Linked DNA regions of Homo sapiens: region 1 is linked to region 2. Evidence: promoter capture Hi-C in 16 types of primary human blood cells and fetal thymus (Javierre and others, 2016). All regions are on one chromosome and are shown on one strand. The core of a region is centred on a gene start or on the middle of the fragment in contact, and the rest is flanking DNA. Distances in the headings are between cores, read along the strand shown. Region 1 overlaps LDB1 (LIM domain binding 1). Region 2 holds the start of PSD (pleckstrin and Sec7 domain containing).

Region 1 (4,548 bases), core at 892-3,391, 300 kb after region 2:
ATGTTATAGATTTCAGTATGTTTGTGAAAGCTGGGGTTTATTCTATGGCCAGGCTGTGATGAGGAATGGTACGCAGGCTTCAGAGAGGGTGATTTATAGGTTAAGTCCTTGCATAATAAATGATCGGGGTGTGTATGTGATAGGCTGTCACAGGTTTAGGGGTTATAACACAGTTTTGGTGTGTGTATTGAGGTCAGGATGCGTGTCATAGGTCCCAGTGTGTATGACTTAGACTGTGTGTGTGTGTATATATCCAGGATTTGGGTATATTTAGGATTTGAGATATATCACAGGTTGATGGCCAGACGCGGTGGCTCACATCTGTAATACTAGCACTTTGGGAGGCCAAGGTGGGTGGATCACCTGAGGTCAGGCGTTCGAGACCAGCCTGGCCAACATAGTGAAACCTGTCTCTACTAAAAATACAAAAATTAGCTGGGTGTGGTGGCATGCACCTGTAATCTCAGCTACTCAGGAGGCTGAGGCAGGAGAATCGCTTGAACCCAGGAGCTGGAGGTTGCAGTGAGCCGAGATCGCGCCACTGCACTCCAGCCTAAGCAACAGAGCGAGACTCCGTCTTGGAAAAAAGATATATCACAGGTTGAAATGTGTATCAGGTAGTGATTTATGTGAAAGTGAGATGTGTTATTTATGTGGAAGATGTTCACAGAGCCAGGTGCAATATTACTGCACAGTTAACTAGTGAGTATGTCATAAGAAATCCTGTCCTTGGAGTTATGTGTGAATATAGTTGGGGGTAGGAGACAGGAAGTAGAGAAACAGACACTCAAATTGCAAAGAAGGAAATAGAAGGTTCGTGCTCCCCCTTCCCGTGTGTGTGTGTGTGTTTGTGTGTGTGTGTGTGTACTATGTATTTTCCTTTTCCTATTTGTCCACGAGTAAGGTCTGGCCCACTACCCAAGTTTTAGAAATATTCCCTCCTGCTACAACAAAATTACCTTAGGAAAAAAAATAGAAATATCTGCTCCCTTGGGATGCCCTGCTGGATGGGAGAACAGGTCCTATCCACTAACCACACGTTTTTTTTTCTGGGGTGGTGGGGAGGATTCAGCAGCAAACTAAGCTCCTTCTGGGGACCCTTGGATGGCCAAGTTGGCTTTCCCTAGCTCTGACAATGCCTCTTTCCCTGGCACCCACTTGTCTTCAGTGGTGGTGGGGAAGGGGGCTTCCTGTTAAGGGGGATCTAAGTCAAGGCTTGGAATTTAGCTGGGTTGGGGGCAGGGAAGCCTGGAGTGTCCCCCTTCCTCCAATCAGTGTTTACAGTCTGATGTCAGAATGTGTGTCTGTCAAAAATAACCCCCTGGAGCCTCTCCCCCCAGCTGCTCCAGGATTTCACCAGGGGAGCCCAGGCTGGCAGTCCGGGCCAGCCTTCAACCTGAGCGATCACAGGGGCGAGAAAGATTTGGGGGAGGTTTGGGAGGTGCTTTGAAGATCTTGGAGTCTGCAGAGAGGAGCCCGCCCTCCTCCATCTCTGCCAGTGGCTTTGGCCCACCTGCTCACTCCTGAGCACCGTGCCTGGGGCTCGGGGGAGGCGGGCTGCATTTCGTTCCTGGCCCCCACAGGCCTCTCCTCCATCCAGGTCTCTCCTGGCCCAATCTGATCCGTCCCCTGTCTCTCCCAGTCTCTGTCTCTCTTTTGTTTTTCTCAGCAGTCCCTCCGTCCCAGCCTCCCTCCCTCCCTTGCTCTTCCTCTTTCCTCTCAGGGAGGGGGCGGGGCCGGTGGGGGCAGCTCCACCCTCCGCCCGCCCTGGGGCCTCATTCTGAGAGAGGCTCGGAGAGAGCGAGCGGGGAGGGAGGGAGGCAGGGAGAGAAAGGGAGAAAGGCAGGCAGCCGGCGGGCGCTGCGTGTGTGTTTGAGTGTGCGAGTGTGAGTGAGTGTGAGTGCCGGGTCCTGCCTCTCCTGGTGCCCCCAGCAGAGGGGCCCGGTGGCCTGGGGAGGGCGGGCGGGCTGCTCGGAGGCAGAGGCAGCAAGAGGCGGCGGCGGGGAGAGCCGAGAAGGAGGAGGAGGAGAGAGGAAAGAGCGGAGCAGCCATTGTTGAGGGAAACCTTGCAAACAAAGAAGGCTCCGGACTCCCCGCGGCCCCCCGCCCCCCAGGCCGGCCCCCTGGCCCCCGGCCCCCGGCCCAGTGGCCATTGTAACTTTCCCCCGGGACAGCGGCCGCCGCGGGGCGGGCCGAGGCAGTGCGTGCGAGTCTTTGTGCGGCCGGCGGACTGGAGCTCCCAGTCGGGCCTGCCCGTCCCACTCGGGACATGAGCTGCTGAAGTTGTCCCCCCGTCAGCCCTCACCCCTGCCAGGACTCCTCTGGGCTTGCAGTCGCTCCCCCGTACCTCTCCTGGCCCCCTCAGTTCTCCCAGGTAAGTCTGGGCACCCTGCGAGCCTGTTGGGGGTGGGCGGAAGGCCCTCAGCCCGGCCCGGGCCTGATCTGCGGGCTGGGGGAGAGGTGCCCCAGCCCAGAGCCGCCGGGGCGCTCAGGCCTGCTGACCTGTGGCCAGTCCCTAAAGGGAGGAGGCCTGCCCTCGAGTCAGCCTGGTTACCATGGCAATACCCAGCTGGAGGTGCCCCCCTCAGCCCCGGGATGCAGCTTCCACCCTGAGAAAACTTTACTAGTTCTGGGCTCTTCTCTCCCCCTTCCTAAAGGCTTCCAATTTGCTAGAGGTGGGAGGGGGGCTATGGCTGACTCCAGGGCTGGATGACACATCTCCTCCGTCCCCCCACCTTGCTGCCTCTACTCCTGCTGCTGGGGACAGGCAGCAACAGGGACAGATGGTCTGGGTGATGTCCCTCCCCTTCTCTACTCACTCCCAAGCCCTTGTGCTGGAGCCACTGGGAGTTGTGGCTCTGGAGAGATGCTGAGTTTGTGTCCATTCACTGGAGGTGTAAATAGAGGCCCAGAGCTTTGGGCTCTAGCTCCTCAGAGCTATTTACCCAGGCCTAGACAATGCCTGTTCATTCTCTAGAGAGAGAAATGGAGGCTCTGAGAGTTTTTTTTTTTTTTTTTTTACAAAATTGGAGAGAAACCCAGGCGTCCTGCCTCCTGTCTCTTCAGGTTCTTGAGCTAACACATTTCAAGTGGCCCGGAAACTGAGGAGGCAGGGGTGGTTAAGCTATGGGAGAAAGGATGGCCTAGTTGGGGGATGAGGGCCAGGTCTGAGAATCTACTCTTGGGTTTATTGCCCAGGCCTGGCCTCTGGTGGGCTGTGTGAGTTTGGGCTTCCTGTGTGGCCTTAGTCTGCCTGTCTGTGGATTGGGGAGACTTGGTGGCTGGGTGGGGACTGTCTTTCTGGAGACACAGGCTCAGTCCAGACTGGCATGTGAAGGCTGTGTGTGCTGTTCTTGGAGCATATGGATGTGGCCCGTGAGAGCTCGTGCATGGGGTGAGGGCCTGTTGCGGGCATCTGAATCTGCCTGGGGCTGCTGGGTTCCAGCCCTTGATAGGCATGTTAGGGCGAGCTGAGGGTGAAAGCCTGCTAGGCAGGATGAGGCACACGTGTGTGCAGGCACACACAGGCTCTGACTTGGCATCTTCAGAGACTGTGCAGTCTGGGACCCTCCTTTTGCCTGCATTGTGAGGACAGGGCTCTGGGGAGAGAATTAAATGACACATGTTGGCACAGGGTCTTCTTTTGTCTCTTCCCCCCAAAGAAACAAAATAGGTTTTGTATCTAAGTTGGGGAGGAGATCTAGATACAGCCAATCTAGCTACCCTTCCAAATGCAGTCGAGTTTTAGGGACCCAAGGAAGCAAATGTGATTGGAGTCAGATGAACTTTTGGGCCTGTGCCTCAGTTTCCCCTCCTATCTGGTGAGAAGGGGAAACAGAGTTGCAGGGGTACCTGGCTCATACCCAACTATGAATTTAACACTTTTTCCAGTCAGAAAACAGTATTCCAGGAACTGTTTGCTGTTAGGTGAGGTGAGAGAGAGGACATGTGCACATCACAGATACACACTAGTGAGACCCCTGTCTAGTGACCACTTGCCCCTAGACTGAGGAACATAGGCTTCTTCCCAGACCACCTACTTCTCAATTGTAGGTAGAGTGGGATGCAAAGGAGGCTCATCTGCCTGCTTCCCCGACTCCCAAGTCTCAGAAGAGAAAAGGGGTTGAGGCTTTGGGTTTCTGGTTTGGAGACAATACTGTCTACCCTTGGGGGCGGGGGTGGGGGCTGGGCTGATAAGGGAGTGGCCGTTAGTGGGGAGGCAGAAGGCCCAACTGGTTATCTGGTAGGCCACACCCAACAGGCACCCACCCCCATTTATCTTTCCATCCCTTGCCCTCCTGAGACCCTGAGGGTGGAGGAAGGGCAGAGTTTGAAAATCCTCCCTTTTCCTCCCCCACTTTGGTCTCTAGAGGGCAATAGAGGGGTCAGATGGTAGAAAGAGTATAGGATGTGGGAATCAGAAGATCCAAGCTCAAGTCCTAGCTTTGACAGTTACTAGCTTTATGATCTTGGCAAGGTCCTTTGAGCCCTCAGTTGCCTCATCTGTAAAATGGGAATGTTATGGTCAGCCCTGCTACCTCATAAGGT
Region 2 (4,217 bases), core at 982-3,481:
ACCGAGGATCCGATCTGAAAGCTTTTCGGGTGGACCCCGAAACGGAGGCGGAACAGACCGGTGGTGTAACATTAGGCCTCGCCTTCTCGGCTACAGGGCTTGAGGCCTGAAGCTGGAGAATGCGGTGGGCATCAGAGACTGGCTTCTGTCGTCCTCTTGAGCCAGTAGCCGCCTCTGAGCGAAGTGGTGGTGGGAGGAGCAGGCAAGGCCAAACGCGGAGGGGGCGGAGCCAGGACTCTTAGGTTACCGGCCTCTCCTCTGCCCTCTGGTCGCGTTTAGCGACTTTGAAAAACGGGGAGAAACTATCCAGGCTCTTACTGTCTGCCACGTAGCAGGTGTTCAATAAGTAATTGTTGAAATAATGAATGAATTGGCGAGGCTATAATGTTTCCCTCATCAAGTAAACCTGCTCAAACCTCCCATTCCTGATTAATTATGAAGAGCTATCCAGCCTCTTCCACTTCGTAACAGTTTGGGCCGCGTTTCCGCCGGGGGAGAGAGATGTAGGGGGCGCGAAGAAAGACTATATTTCCAACTGGGTCCCTTTCATTTCCTCCAAAGGTCCAGAGTCCTAAGAAGAATGAGAGCTCAGCTCAGCCCGCCAGTGGTAGTGCTTCTCGGCTGGCCTTGGGTTTAGTTGTAGGGTCTGGGGCTGGGTCCGCCCTGGGACAATGACGCCCCAGACCTCTGGACTCAGCTTCAGGGCTGCCTCTCACCGCGTCCCCAGGTCCCAGTCCCAGGATCCGCTTCGGGGAACCCCAGGAGTAGTGCCTTCCCCCATCATCCACGGGATGGGTGTGGGGGGATGTGAAGGACGCGAGAGCCACTGCACCGCTGACGGTCTGGCGCTCCGGTGCAACCGCTTCAGCTGGCTCATCACAACGAAAACCACTTCTCATCTGTTATCTCGTCAAGGCTTCGGGCACCTCTGAAAGGTGGGCAGGTCTATGCTATCAGTCCATTTTAAAGATGGGGAAACCGAGGCCCTGGAGAGGAAGCCCCTTGTCCAGAATCAAGCCAGACGGGAATAGAGAACCCAGACATCTGGTTTTCCCAGAATTCCTTCCACGTTTCCCCACCCCGCAAGGCAGCGAGAAGGGAGAAGCTAGCAGCGGGGAGAGACAAGAAAGGGGTCAAGTTAGGTGAGGGCTTGCTATCTCTTCTTCCTCAGCCTGCTTAGGGAGGGGGTAGCTGGGAGGACAGACCCCTGCAAAGATAGAGCCACGTGAGCGCGCACCACCTCCGGCCGCGCGCCTCGTCCCCCTCCCCTCTTTGTTCGCGCCTCTGCGCCTGCGCAGTGCGACAAATCTGGCGCTGTCCCCTTCAGCACCACGCGGAGTCCGCGCCGCCCCTCCCCGCGGTGAGCCCCGCGCGCCCCCGCCTCGCACGTCCTCGCGCCCCCTGACTGCCCGAACAGACCCCTTCTTCCTTCCGAGGTCACCATCTGCCCGCCCTGGCCCTCCCAAAGAGAGTAGTTGCCATAGTAACTCCAGCGGCTCTTTCTTAAAATAGCAGGGCCCCCTTCTACCCTGGCCAAGGGCACAAGGGTTGCCGGTCCCCCACGTCTTCCGGTCCCTAGTTCATCCCGTCTAACCTCTTACCCCTGGGCAGGCGTGACGACACCTAACTCAGGCAGCAAGGAAGTTCTTCCTGAAGTCTGATTTAACATCCCCCTGCTGCATCCTGGGAGGGTGGTCAGGGTTGGATCTCCTGGGTCCGAGACTCAAAACCCCTGGCGGGTTCAAGACGGTGTTCCCTAGATCTCCTTTCCATAGTTGATGGTCTCCTGGATTTAGGGGGCGGGTCCAGTCTACACCCATACCGTGTGCTTGGCGCGGCCGCGTGCTCGTGGGGGCGGGAGCGCGTGTGGCATGTAACAGGTCATGTGGCAGCCTCCTAGGGACACGCGTGGGGTCTGGAGCGGGACACGCGTGTGCAGCCGGGCCTTACGTGTGGCTCAAGGGGCGGTGGGCGAGAGAGACGTGGACACAAGTGGGGTGGGGCACGTGAGGGTCTGGGGAATAGAACCAGGGGTTCCATGCGCCCTCCTCCTTGTCTGGGGCGGGTCTTAGGTTGGCGGGAGAGCCCAGCGGGGACCTAGCGACAAGGGGGGCTGGCAGCCTCCGGGGCTCTGGGCCCTGGGAGAGGGCGGGGGGTGGGGGGGATTAGCGTTGCCTGAGCGGCGCGTAGGGGGTAGGGGGAGGGACTGAGAGGCGGGCGGGCCTGGAGCAAACGGGAGCCGCGCTGCCTTCACAGCTCAGCTGGGCCCAGCCTCTCCTCTGTCTCTCCTCGGTCTCAGCTCTGGGCGAGCAGCGGTGAGTACTGAGGTGGCATTGAGTTGGGGCTGCACCGGGTATGCGCTGGGACCCCGTTGAGCTTCCGGAACCTGCCTGGCAGGGTTGCTACTCCTGACCTCTGCCCCTCCCCTGCATTGCCACCAGAGGCCCCTTTACCTGGTTATGGTCTCTCCTGGGCGGGATCTGTCTTACCCCTGGGGAGAGAGGGAGAGGAGAGGAATATGGGTGCAGATTCCCCTCAAGAGACCCCAGTAGGTGGGGGGGAGGGGACGGTGTGTGTCCCTGCTTGAGTGTGTACATCTGTATGTGTACATCTGTATGTGTATGTGACTGTGAGCAGTAGGTCTCTGTGAGTGTCTGATACACCTGGACCTCTGTGTGCACTGGAGAATGACAGCTTGTGTATATATTTGGGTACCTCTTTGTGTGTTCCTGTTTGATGATGGTGTGTGTGTAAAACAAGCATGTGCCTTTTCATTACACACATACTTGTTATGACTGTGAGAGTGCATGAGGGTGTGTCTTTGAGCAGTGTGTGTGTGTGTGTGTCTGTGTGTGTGCCAGAGGGTGTTGCCTATGAATGTGTTTAACTGTGTACTGACATATTTGTCCTTATGTATGTGTGTGCGTGTGTGTGTGTGTGTGTGTGTGTGTGTGTTTGTGTGTGTGTAGGTGCCTGTCTGTACCTGTATGAAGAAAAGAATGTCCCTGGCCGGGTGCGGTGGCTCACGCCTGTAATCCCAACACTTTGGGAGGCCAAAGTGGGTGGATCCCCTGAGGTCAGGAGTTTGAAACTAGCCTGGACAACATGGTGAAACTCCATCTCTACTAAAAATACAAAAATTAGCCAGGCATAGTGCTGAGCGCCTGTAATCCAAGCTATTCAGGAGTCTGAGGCAGGAGAATCACTTGAACTTGGGAGGCGGAGGTTGCAGTGAGCTGAGATAGCGCCATTCCACTCCAGCCTGGGCAGCAGGGGCGAAACTCCATCTCAAAAAAAAAAAAAAAAAAGAAGAATGTCCCTTTCCCACTCAGTATGTATATATTGGGGGTAGGAGCCTCTGCTCAGGCTTTTCTCCCCACTTCCATGCTGTGCCTCTCAGCCCTTCAGCATCCCTATATAACACCTGTTCCTCTTCCCTCTCCTTCCAGGAGGCCTGAGTTTCCCTTCCCTGAGTGAGGGGCCTCCATAAGAGAGACTATAGGGGTCACAGGGCTGTATGATGGTGACAGCTGGCTGACACCCCTTTTCCAGAGGGTGGGGTACCAACTTCCCCTATTCTAGAAGTAGCTCCAAAGTGCCATAAGAACTCCGGGCTCACTCAACTTTGAAGTTGCTTCCTCTCTCCTCCCAGGGTGATGCTCAGGGCCTCAGGCAGAAGGAAAGGAGCCAGGGGCCCACTGGGTGTATAAGTCTTTTCTCGTCAGGCCTCTATGGAAGTAGTCCCCAGGCGTGGGATCAATGATCCCATATTACCAGGGTGTGCTAGGTCCCTGATACTCAGAGGCCCTAGCCAACTTTCCCTTCCCTATCTCTGCTGTCCTATCCATCTAACTCCTTGGCAGTTCACCCCATGCTCCCCTTCCTCTCTTACAGGCCTGTCTGAAGAGCATGCAGCCCCCTTACTCCCCGCCTGGCCTCGCCATCCCTGCCCCCCCAGCCTGACCCCCGGCCCCAGCATGGCCCAGGGTGCCATGCGCTTCTGCTCGGAAGGCGACTGTGCCATCTCCCCACCACGATGCCCACGCCGCTGGCTCCCCGAAGGCCCGGTGCCCCAGAGCCCCCCAGCCAGCATGTATGGCAGCACAGGCTCCTTGCTACGGCGAGTGGCAGGTCCAGGTCCTCGAGGCCGGGAACTGGGACGTGTGACAGCACCCTGTACACCTCTGCGTGGCCCCCCCTCACCCCGTGTTGCTCCC

What was found. The method cuts DNA at HindIII sites, captures the fragments that hold promoters and counts their contacts. A CHiCAGO score of 5 or more calls a contact.
Region 1: a fragment that was not itself captured here is called in contact with the fragment with the promoter of PSD in region 2 in 1 of 17 cell types (non-activated CD4 T cells); the score reaches 5.6 in non-activated CD4 T cells.

The regions. Positions count from the first base shown.
Region 1 is chr10:102,112,232-102,116,779 of GRCh38, reverse strand. All of the region lies in intron 1 of LDB1 (LIM domain binding 1), which reads left to right. Among named protein-coding and RNA genes, the nearest start is that of LDB1, 5.9 kb to the left of the region's middle. RefSeq lists silencers at 1,647-1,856, 1,967-2,116, 2,137-2,286, 2,337-2,426. The HindIII fragment of the contact is 8,794 bases long and covers 1-4,548 here.
Region 2 is chr10:102,416,799-102,421,015 of GRCh38, reverse strand. PSD (pleckstrin and Sec7 domain containing) reads left to right here and starts at 2,231. Exons shown (of 17, transcript NM_002779.5): 1 at 2,231-2,315; 2 at 3,895-4,217. The coding sequence starts at 3,978. FBXL15 (F-box and leucine rich repeat protein 15) reads right to left here and starts at 180. Exons shown (of 4, transcript NM_024326.4): 1 at 1-180. RefSeq lists an enhancer at 1-262. The HindIII fragment of the contact is 10,611 bases long and covers 24-4,217 here.